3 separate regions of the Homo sapiens genome follow, and all the other regions are linked to region 2. Evidence: promoter capture Hi-C in human tissues and cell types (Jung and others, 2019). All regions are on one chromosome and are shown on one strand. Each heading gives the region's core, a stretch centred on a gene start or on the middle of the fragment in contact. The rest is flanking DNA. Distances are from core to core; before and after follow the strand shown. Region 1 holds the start of ZNF560 (zinc finger protein 560). Region 2 holds the start of OR7D4 (olfactory receptor family 7 subfamily D member 4). Region 3 overlaps ZNF121 (zinc finger protein 121).

Region 1 (3,683 bases), core at 176-2,675, 280 kb before region 2:
AGAATAGAACAAATAAAAATATATTTATAGGTGATATTTGATATATAGAGAATTTTGAAGAATCTACAAGAAAACTAGCAGAGCTTGTAATAAATTCCGTAAAGTTGCACAGTACAACATCAAGAGATGAAAATTAGTTTTGTATCTATACACCAGCAATGAACAATCAGAAAAGGAAACTGAGAATGTGATCCCTTTTACAAATAAGTTACATGGGAATAACTTTACCCCAAGAGGTAAAATATTTGTAAACTGAAAATTTCAAAACATTACTGAAAGAGTTTAAAGAAGACCTAAATAGAGAGATATTGTATATTCACACATAGGAAGACTCAGTATTATAAAGATACCAATATAACCCGAAGATTCAACTAAATCTCTACCACAAGTCCAACAGTCCTTTCTTTTTCTGCACAGAATAAGTGAAGAATGCCTGGTATCAGTGTTATTTCATAAAGTAGTACAGGAGGCTTTGAATCATTTGATAAGATTTGAGAAATAGTAACAAATACATTGTTGAAGAAGAAAAAAAAATACAATAAGGCCAGGCATGGTGCATGATGGCTCACGCCTGTAATCCCACTTCGGGAGTGCAGGGCGGGCAGATCACTTGAGCCCAGGAGTTCCAGACCAGCCTGGGCAACATGGTTAGATCCTGTCTCTACAAAATAATAATAATGATGATAATAATAATAATACAAAAATTAGCCGGGTGCGGTGCGCCCGTGGTCCCAGCTACTCGGGAGGCTGAGGTGGAAGGATGGCTTGAGCCTGGAGAGGTGGAGACTGCAGTGAGCCGTGTTCCTACCACTGCATTCCAGCCTTGGCAACCGAGCCAGACCCTACCTCGAAGAAAAAAAGAAAAGAAAAGAAAAAAGAAAGAAAAGAAAAAAATTGCAATATTTACAGAAAGTATCGATAACTGAAAACGCAGAGGAATCAATGATTAGAGTTTAGCAAGGTCAGATAAATAAAAAGAAATAAGAGAAAATAAAGTTCTAAAGACGTGATCGAATGCAGGAAGCAGGCCATTTTGTGGATTGGCAGGTTATCAACTGGAGAGAATCCTGAAAGGGGTCCAGGAACGTGGGGAAAGTTTCTAATGAGCATCCTGAGGGGCGAGTCCATCGCCCGACGTTTCGCCTTCCTGGTCCATTCTGCCACCGAAGCCACCGGCTGGGTCTGGTCCCACCTCCAGCCCCGCCCCCGGGCATGGGCCCCGCCCACAGCCCTGATTTAACCCCCACCTTTCTCTGTGGGTCCATTTCTCTCTTGCCCACCCAGGCACTGAGCCGACCCCTTGATACCTCCGCACCCACGCGGAGGGAAACTAGAATCCTGAAGAGTTCCATCCTGTCCAACTGCCCACACAACGAGCCACGCCCCTTCCAATGCCCCAAACGGAAGTGACGTTGCGGCGCGCCAGTTCTCTCTTTTGGTCGCTGGCGCCTGTTTCCTCAGAGCCACTTTTTCCTTTGTGTTGTCTGGTCGTTCACTACTTTGGTGAGGCTCGTGTGGACTAGTGGGTTGGGCGGTGTTTCGGGGGGTGGCAGAGGTCACAATCGACCCAGGGTAATCGAGGAACCTCCTTACAGAGGCCTGGACCACTCCACAGGAGTCCGCAGGAGTCGCGGAGCCATCGGGTGAGGCCACGTCGAAGAGGCCATTGGGACCTTCGGTCCCCTAGAGGAGCCGGGTGGGAAGTGCAGTATGGGCGCGTCCGAGGGCTGTTTTCAGCCGTGTGTTCCCGTCTTCAAAAGTGTCCAAGCGTTCTGAGGCCTTAAAAAATAAGTCTCCAAGGCAACGTTTGTGAATTGTGTTTCAGAGGGAAAAGAATTTTGCCGTTCGCGTTCGATTGACTCCGTCCCCAAGATCCTGTAGCCCCACGGACCTGGCGACTCCACCGTGTTCGGGTGAGCATTGGGAAAAAGTTGGTTTAAGGGGGCAGCTGCTTCCTTTTTTATGCAAACGAGTGTTTCATGTGAGATTTTGGCATTTTGCCTTTGTGAAACCTGTATATTTTTTATTGACACATTACGTTCCGGTAGAAAGGTGCTTTCTTAGTTGTCTAGGGTGTGCGTATTTCTGCATGTGCATATAAACGTTTGTAGACCGCGAGTCTTTCTACTAAAGAAACCTAAGAATACTCAGCCATTCTTTTCATCTGAAGTTCCTAGCTCTGTACGTCTCCAAAGAGCTTCATAACCAGGCTTCCTGGAAGAAAGGATGGAGGGTTTACACACTAATACTAGAATAATCGAATTTACCATTAACAGGATGACTGTACTAAGTGTATTTTTCCCGCATTTTTTTTCGAAAAAACTTAAACCTATGGGTATGTTGACCATCCAGTACCACGAATAAATATCCATTGTAGCTGCACCTGTTTTTTAGCGTTTTGTGTATTCGCCGTCTCGTAAATAAATTTTATGGTGAACAGTTTGAGAGTCAATGGGAAATTCATTGCAGAGATGAAGCTCGACATTTTTTTTTTTTTTTTTTTTTTGAGAGGGGGTCTAGCTGTGTCGCCCAGGCTGGAGTGCAGTGGCGCGATCTCGCCTCACTGCAACCTCTGCCTCCCGGGTTCAAGCGATTCTCCTGCCTCAGCTTCCCAAGTGGCTGTAATTACAGGGGTGTGCCACCGTGCCCGGATAATTTTTTGTATTTTTGTAGAGATGGGGTTTCACCGTGATAGCCAGGATGGTAAGCTCGACATTTAAGTAGTGGGTAATGCCTGACTCAATGATAAGAGTGTTGTTTTACTAAAACCGTAATACTATTTGCATCAAGAAAATTAAAAATAATAATGTTATCTAATATTTACTATGTATAATAAATGAAAATTCTCCAAATTCTTCTAAAATATAACGGAATGTTTTTGGATCTGAGCTCTATTCAAGATTTTTTTTTTTTGAGAGTTTTTTTGAGGCAGGATGTTGCCTTGTTGCCCAGGCTGGAGTGCGGTGGCATGATATTGGCTCACTGCAACCACCGCTTACCACGCCCAACTTTGTGTTTCTGTGCCTGGTTTATTTCACTTAACGTACTGTCCTCCAGTTCTATCTACGTTGTTGAAAATGACAGGATTTCATTCTATTTTTTTTTTGAGACACAGTCTCGTTCTGTCGCCAGGGTGGAGTGCAGTGGTGTGATCTCGACTTACTGCAACCTCTGCCTCCCTGGTTCAAGCGATTCTCCTGCCTCAGCCTTTTGAGTAGCTGGGATTTCAGGCACGTGCCACCTCGCCCAGCTAATTTTTGTATTTGTAGTGGAGATGGGGTTTCACCATGTTGGCCAGGATGGTCTTGATCTCCTGACCTCGTGATCCGCCTGCCTCAGCCTCCCAAAATGCTGAGATTACAGGCGTGAGCCACTGCACCTGGCCAGGATCTTCTTTGTTGTCTTTTGTTTTTCTTGCCTTCCTCCCTGTCCCCCCCACCCCCACCTTTTTTTTTTCCAAGTTCAGCTTTTTATTGAACACATTTCAGAAGAGGTTTAGTCAAAAAGACCAAAGCCAGGCCTGGTGCGGTGTCTCACGCCTATAATCCCAGCACTTTGGGAGGCTGAGGCAGGTGGATCACGAGGTCAGTAGTTCTCTACCAACCTGGCCAAGATGGTGAATCCCTGTCTCTACTAAAAATACAAAATACAAAAATATATATATATTTGCGGGGTTTTTTTGT
Region 2 (3,636 bases), core at 245-2,744:
CAGGATGGTCTCGATCGCCTGACCCTGTGATCCGCCCGTCTAGGCCTCCCAAAGTGCTGGGATTACAGGCGTGAGCCACTGCGCCCGGCCCAACATACATTTTTAAAAGGTTTAACTTCACTAATCATCAGGGAAATGCAAATGAAAACCACAATGAGATATCACCTCACTTCATCTCAAATGGCTATTACTAAAAAGACAAAAGATAGTAAGTGCTGGCCAGGATATGAAGAAATGGAAACCCTTCTACACTGTTGGTAGGAATGTAAATTAGTACAACCATTATGGAAAAGAGTATGGAGGTTCCTCAAAAACTTAAAAATAGAACTACCATATGATCCAGCAGTCCACTACTGGGTATATATCAATAAGAAACGAAGTCAGTGTGTGGAAGGGATATCGCACTCCCATGTTTATTGGAGCATTATTCACAGTAGCCAAGACACAGAATCAACCTAGTTGTCTGCAAATAAATGAATGGATAAAGAAAATGTAGTATATATACACAATGGAATATGATTCATCCATAAAACACAAGGAAATCCTGTCATTTGCAACATGGATGAACTCAGAGAACATTGTGTTAAGTGAAATAAGGGAGGCACAGAAAGACAAATATCACATGATCTCACTCATATGTGGAATCTAACGAAGGTGATCTCAGAGAAATAGAATCCAGATTTCAAAGAAGTAGAATGTTGGTTACCAGACCCAGAGTGGTTTGGGGTTGAGGAGTAGTGTTGGTGTTGTGGAGATGTTAGTAAAAGAATACAAAATTACAGCTATATAAGAGAAGTAAGTTCAAGAGATCTATTGTACAGCAGGATGACTTTAGTTAATGATGATATATATGATATTCTTTGAAAATGCTAAGAGAGTGGATATTAAGTGTTCTCACCAGGATAACGACTCTGTGAGATAATGCGTATGTTAATTAGATACATTGAATGTCCACAATGTATATATATTTCCAAATATCAAGTTGTACATGATACATACATATAATTCTATAATTTAAAAAAATATATAAAAATAATTTGAAAAAATATTTAAAAAGAAAAGACATTTTTGTTTCCATGAATTTTCAACACCGAGGGATCCATAAAATCTCCAAAGACTCTTCAAGGGAGTCACATCGCTTGGAGATGATTCCTGAGTTTAGTTCCTTGCAGAAATTAATCTTTCCTTAGGGCAAAACTTGTGACTTTCAAATTAAACCGAAGAAAGAATTTCTTCTTGGGGGAAATAAATCCATCATGCCCTACCACTGCCTATTTCATCACAAAATTAACTGAAAAATTTCCATTCTATCATCTTCTTACTACTCAAAGGGAGCCAAACTCTTTGGAGAGTGGGAAGAAAATAGAACAATTTATTTAATAAGGTGCTCTGAGAATTCAACTCTTGAGACACTGGAAACTTAAAATGTGCCCCTGTTTAAACAACCTCACCTGTAATTCTCTGCTCCCAGCCTTTGGAAAAAACCCAGTACGGCTTCCTAGGAACAGATCGTGTAGAAGAGAAAACTTCAGTGATAACCATCAGAGTTAGTGTGACCCAGTGAGGGCTGGTGGGGTAAGAAGGAAAAGAGGAGAGAGAATAAGTACTAGCCTTCACAGTAATGAGCCTGGAAAGTCCCATACTTATTGAGTCTATGAAGGTGAAGTCCCTGTACTTTGATGGTACTTTAGTTTTCACAGAAACCAGTGTCTCCCACCTTCTGTTCTCACTCCTTGGAATCCAGGGCCCGTCTTTAATAAGTTATTTTCCGAACAGTCTCTAACTCTCCTGCACTCTTTCCTATAAACTTTAGTCTCCTGTTGAATTTCGTACATCCAGTTACTTATTCATTAACTACTCACGGAAGATCTACTATGCTCAAGGTATTGTCTATGTGTTCCTAATGTGATTGGATTTTTCTATTATATTCTATATTTTTCCTGGCAGATTATTGGTTACCAGACCCAGAGTGGTCTGGGGATTGGGGGTAGGGTTGATGTGGTGGAGATGGTGACTTATTTACAGCACTTACTAGCTGTTATGTTTTTGCTATTTCAACTTAGTATCCATGATATCATATAGAAATAATACAATTATTTCTGACATTCAACATGCAGTCCAATTTTTTTTCTCATATTAAAAATCCCTTGGCTGAACGTAGTGGCTCACATCTATAATCCCAGCACTTTGGGAGGCCGAGGCGGGCAGATCACTTGAGGCCAGGACCCTGAGACCAGCCTGGCTAACATGGCAAAACCCTGTCTCTACTAAACAATAACAAAAAAAGAAAGCCTGACACCTTAGCTTACACCTGCAATCCCAGTTACTCGGGAGACTGAGATGGGATAATTGCTTGAACCCAGGAGGCAGAGGTTGCAGTAAGCTGAGACTGCACCCCGCACTCCAGCCCAGGTGACAAAGTGACACCATGTCCCCCCCAAAAAAAAATCCATTTGCATGTTCACCAAAATATCAAAAGATTGAAATTGTAGTAGACGGCCTTTGGTGTATCCAGGAATTTAAACCCCTTACTGTTTTAACATAGCATATCTTGTTGCCTGTGGTATTAAAACAACCATTGTTTATCGGGTTAAGCAATTGTCCTTGGTTTCTTCCTTTATTGAGAGGATCTGCCCTGGTTGATAATCTTTTTCAAATGCATTTTTTCTATTGTGATTTTGTTTATGATTTCTCTTTACTGACCTGTTTTTGTGATGAATTATGCAGACATTCTTACATTAAACCTGCTTCCATTGTTAGAGCTGGTATTACTACTTCATTTATCATTATTTTAAAAGAGATATGAATATGTTATTTACTGTATTATTAAATTTATGTCTATATTCAAACATGTCTTAAACTTGAAGATTTCTATTTTGTGTTATAGTTGATGCTTTGGTCCCAGTCTTTATAGAACATTTCAATTTGTACTTGCTCAGAATCAGTAATGTGCTGGGCACCACGTAAATCCTTGTTAAATGATGAGACAAAACAATCGCAACCACTGTCTAAAACTAAATATAAGTTGACCAATGTGAAAGGGACAAGGAGGAAGAATATAGGATGTTCTATTTCTAGTCATCAAATACATATCCCGCTTTCATTCCCTGCTCCCCATCTCACTGGCATCTCAAATCCCTTCCTTTACAAGCTCAATGACCCATGGGACAATCTCGAATTCTCTTCTGTCAGCCTAGAAGATTTACCCTTTCCTTTCCTTACTTCCCCTAATTAACAATGATCCGGCCAGGTGCAGTAGCTCATGTCTGTAATCCCAGCATTTTGGGAGGCCGAGGTGGGCAGATCACTTGAGGTCAGTAGTTCGAGACCAGCCTGGCTAACAAGGTGAAACCCTGTCTCTACTAAAAATAAAAAAATTAGCTGAGCGTAGTGGCACACACCTGTAATCCCAGCTACTCAGGAGGCTGAGACAGGAGAATCGCTTGAACCTGGGAGGCAGAGGTTGCAGTGAACAGAGATAGCACCACTATACTCCAGCCTGGGCAACAGATCGAGATTCCATCTCCAAACAAACAAACAAACAAACCAATGATCCATTCTTCCTCTCTCAGCCCAAATTTTCCTATCTCAGAGAAGCCTCTTCTATCCACTTTCCAGGACTAAAGTTGGTCTTCA
Region 3 (3,536 bases), core at 154-2,653, 360 kb before region 2:
AGTAGAGACAAGGTTTCACCATGTTGGCCAGGCTGGTCTCGAAATCCTGAGCTCAGGCAGTTCACCTGCTTCGGCCTCCCAAAATGCTGGGATTACAGGTGTGAGCCACTGTGCCTGAACACTTACTTTTTGAGCATTGTGCTTGTTTTCTTTCACCTCAGGTAAATACATTTTATGGTGAACAATTTGAGTGTAAATTGAGCATAATTGCACACGTGATACTTGACCTTTAAATACTTGGTAATGCATCGCCTAAAAAAATAGCACTGTCATTCTGAAACCACAATACTAGTATTTCACTTAAATAAAAAATAATAATGTCATCTAATGTCTGCTTTTTATAATAACTAAAATTCTCCGCATTGATTCAACGTATGCTCTTGGATGTTTTTGGGTTTAAGATCCATTCAAGATTTTTACATTGCAATTGTTAATGTTTTCAGTGTCTTTTTACCTAGAACAGTTATTATTGTATATTATATTGACTTTTGGAGAGTCACACTGTGGGATATGAGGATATGATGAGGTTTCTCTTCAAATAATCTCATCAATCTTTTATTCTCTAATTCATAGTACCCCCCCTTTTTCTCCTTTTTTCTCCTTTTTGCCTTTGTTAGATGCCCAGGCATGCCACAGTACAAAGCGTTATCAGTACCAGCTCACATACCTTTCCTTACTTAGAAAGAGGACTTTCTAGCTCACTACAGACATCCCTTCCCCTTCCTCTCCACTTTTCTTCTACGTGCCCACCCTATCTAAAAAAAATCAGGTGTTTCACCAACCGGGATTAGTTTAGATTGTACGACCTGACCCCGGCCAATAGGGAAAGGGTACAGGGGCAGGACTTGCATCAGGAGTAAAGGCTCTCATGCCCCTTTGTTCAGGTGTGCTCTCATGGCAACTGGTCAAGGAGGCACCCCTCTGCACAGAAGTAAAATTGCTTTGCTAAGAATCCTTTGTTCGAGTGTTCAATTTCCTTAGGATTTTGAGCGTTATTCCTAACACTCATTCTCTTAGAAAGTCATACAATCAGATATTTCTGATTGGATTCTCATGGTGTGTGTAAATATTCCTTTATTTCATGCGATTTCCTACAAACTCGGGGTTTTTGGCCTAAAGGAGAAGCTGACAACCTTTGTTTGATAAGGGCTGACAGTATGTACTTCGTGCTTTGGGGACCAGAAAGTCTCAAATTACTCAGATCTGCCTTAGTTACTTCATGTCCCATGATTAGTTGTTCATTCTCTATCGCATGGTAGTGGCAAACCACAACCTGTTTCTCAAAAGAGAAACAGTTAATCTGCACAAGAGGGCATGGATTGACTATGGAATACCAGAGGCCTCTACTCTACATCTTCTGTTGGTGTATGCCAGAGGCTTCCAATAAATAGGATGCCATTTAACATGGACACGTTGAGTATCATTGGGTCTGCTGGATCAGGTGGACCAAGTGCTTGGGAAGCCTGCAGTGCAGCCTGAAATTGCTCTTGTCTACAGTTGAAACTAGAATCCTTACAGGCAACTGTGTGGGGCGTTAAAGCACATACAAATGTATATGTTGCCTCCAAAATTCAAGAGGTTTACGGGTGGTAGCTCTATTGACAGTTCTATTTTTAGTTTTTTGAGAAACCCCCATACTGAGTTTTTTTTTTTTTCTTTTTTGAGTCTTGCTGGATCACCCAGGCTGGAGGGCAATGGCATAATCATGGCTCATTGCTCGTTTTTAGTGGTAGGTGGTATTAGGTGAAGTAACTTGGAGGGACATCTTGCAGGGAATGTCTTTTTGTAGGGAATGTCTTTACATGATCCAGACAAGGGAATATCTATCTTTTTTTTTTTCTTTTTTTCTTTTTGAGACTAGTTTTTCTCTGTCACCCAGGCTGGAGTGCAGTGGCACAAACTGGGCTTACTGCAAACTCTGCCTCCCGAGTTCACGCCATTCTCCTGCCTCAGCCTCCTGAGTAGCTGGGACTACAGGTGCCCGCCAACACGCCCGGCTAATTTTTTGTATTTTTAGTATTGACGAGGTTTCACCGTGTTAGCCAGGATGGTCTCAATCTCCTGACGTCGTGATCCGCCCGTCTCAGCCTCCCAAAGTGCTGGGATAACAGGTGTGAGCCACCCGCGCCTGGCTGACAAGGGAATATCTTTACCCACAGACATGGTGGCCCCAGAATCTCCCACCCTCTATTTGAAAATTCAAAAAAAGTTTTTTGATTCATAATAGACGTACATGTTTTCTGAGTACATGTGATAATTTGATGCATTTATATTATCAAATCAGGGTAAGTAGAATATCTGTCACCTTAAATATTTATCCTTTCTTTATTGCAGGAAAATCAAGTTATTCTCTTAGCTGTTTTGAAATGTACAATAGATGAGTGTTAAATGTAGTCACCCTACTGATCTATTGAACACTAGTTCTTATTTCTTCTAACTGTGTATTTTACCCATGAATCAACCTCTCTTTTTTTTCTAGAGACGGAGTCTCACTGTTGCCCAGGCTGGAATGCAGTGGCATGATCTCGGCTCACTGTAACCTCCACCTCCTGGGTTCAAGTGATTCTCCTGCCTGGGACTACAGGCGCACGCCACAATTCCCAGCTAATTTTTGTATTTTCAGTAGAGATGGAGTTTCGCCATGTTGGCCAGGCTGGTCTCGAACTCCTGACCTCAAGTGATTCACCTGCCTTGGGCTCCTAAAGAGCTGGGATTACAGGCATGAGCCACTGTGACTGACAGGTTTTATGTGTGCATATGTGTGCAGACAGGTCTTCCTGTGTTGTCCAGGCTGGCTCGAACTTCTGGGCTCAAGTGATCCTCCCACCACAGCCTCAAGTTTTGGGATTACAGGCATGAGCCACTACACCTGAGTATTGTTCTCTATAGTGGCTGTACTAATTTACATTCCCATCAACTGCATACAAGGATTATCTTTTCACCACATCCTCATCAGTATTTGTTATTCCCTGTCTATAAAAGCCACCCTATGAGGTGAGATGACATCTCATTGTGGTAATGTGTGATTTGTATTTCTTTGATGTTTAGCCATGTTGAGCATTTTTTCCGTATACCTGTTGGCCATTTGTATGTCGTTTTTTGAGAAACAAGTATTCTGACCTTTGGCCAATTTTTTGATCGGATTTTTTTTTTTTTTTTTTTTGCTATCAAGTTGAGTTCCTTATATATTTTGATTACTAATCTTTGTCAGGTGGATAGTTTGTAAATATTTTTTTCCCATACTCTAGATTGTCTCTTCAGTTTGTTGATTGTTTTGCTGTGGAGAAGTTTTTAGTTTGATGTAATCTCATATGTTTATTTTTGCTCCTGTTGCCTGTGCTGTTGAGGTCTTACCCAAGAAATCTTTACCCAGACCAATGTCCTGGATTGTTTCCCCAGTTTCTTCCTCTAGTAGCTTTATAGTTTCAGGTGTTAGATGTCTTTAATCTGTTTTGATTTTGTTTATGCTGAGAGATGGCATCTAGTTCATTCTGCATATCGTTATTCAGTTTTCCCAGCAGCACTTATTGAAGACT

What was found. The method cuts DNA at HindIII sites, captures the fragments that hold promoters and counts their contacts. A contact is called where the count stands out against the background at its distance.
Region 1: the fragment with the promoter of ZNF560 here is called in contact with the fragment with the promoter of OR7D4 in region 2 in 3 of the 25 tissues and cell types used here (lymphoblastoid cells, mesendoderm cells and spleen).
Region 3: a contact is called between a fragment that was not itself captured here and the fragment with the promoter of OR7D4 in region 2, in 1 of the 25 tissues and cell types used here (adrenal gland).

What each region holds. Positions count from the first base shown.
Region 1 is chr19:9,496,358-9,500,040 of GRCh38, reverse strand. It overlaps ZNF560 (zinc finger protein 560), which reads left to right and starts at 1,425. Exons shown (of 10, transcript NM_152476.3): 1 at 1,425-1,503; 2 at 1,826-1,913. The HindIII fragment of the contact is 15,358 bases long and covers 1-3,683 here.
Region 2 is chr19:9,217,447-9,221,082 of GRCh38, reverse strand. OR7D4 (olfactory receptor family 7 subfamily D member 4) reads left to right here and starts at 1,494. Exons shown (of 2, transcript NM_001005191.3): 1 at 1,494-1,883. It also overlaps a transcript of OR7E24 not described here. The HindIII fragment of the contact is 21,358 bases long and covers 81-3,636 here.
Region 3 is chr19:9,578,608-9,582,143 of GRCh38, reverse strand. All of the region lies in intron 1 of ZNF121 (zinc finger protein 121), which reads left to right. Among named protein-coding and RNA genes, the nearest start is that of ZNF121, 4.1 kb to the left of the region's middle. RefSeq lists an enhancer at 1-502. The HindIII fragment of the contact is 5,310 bases long and covers 1-3,536 here.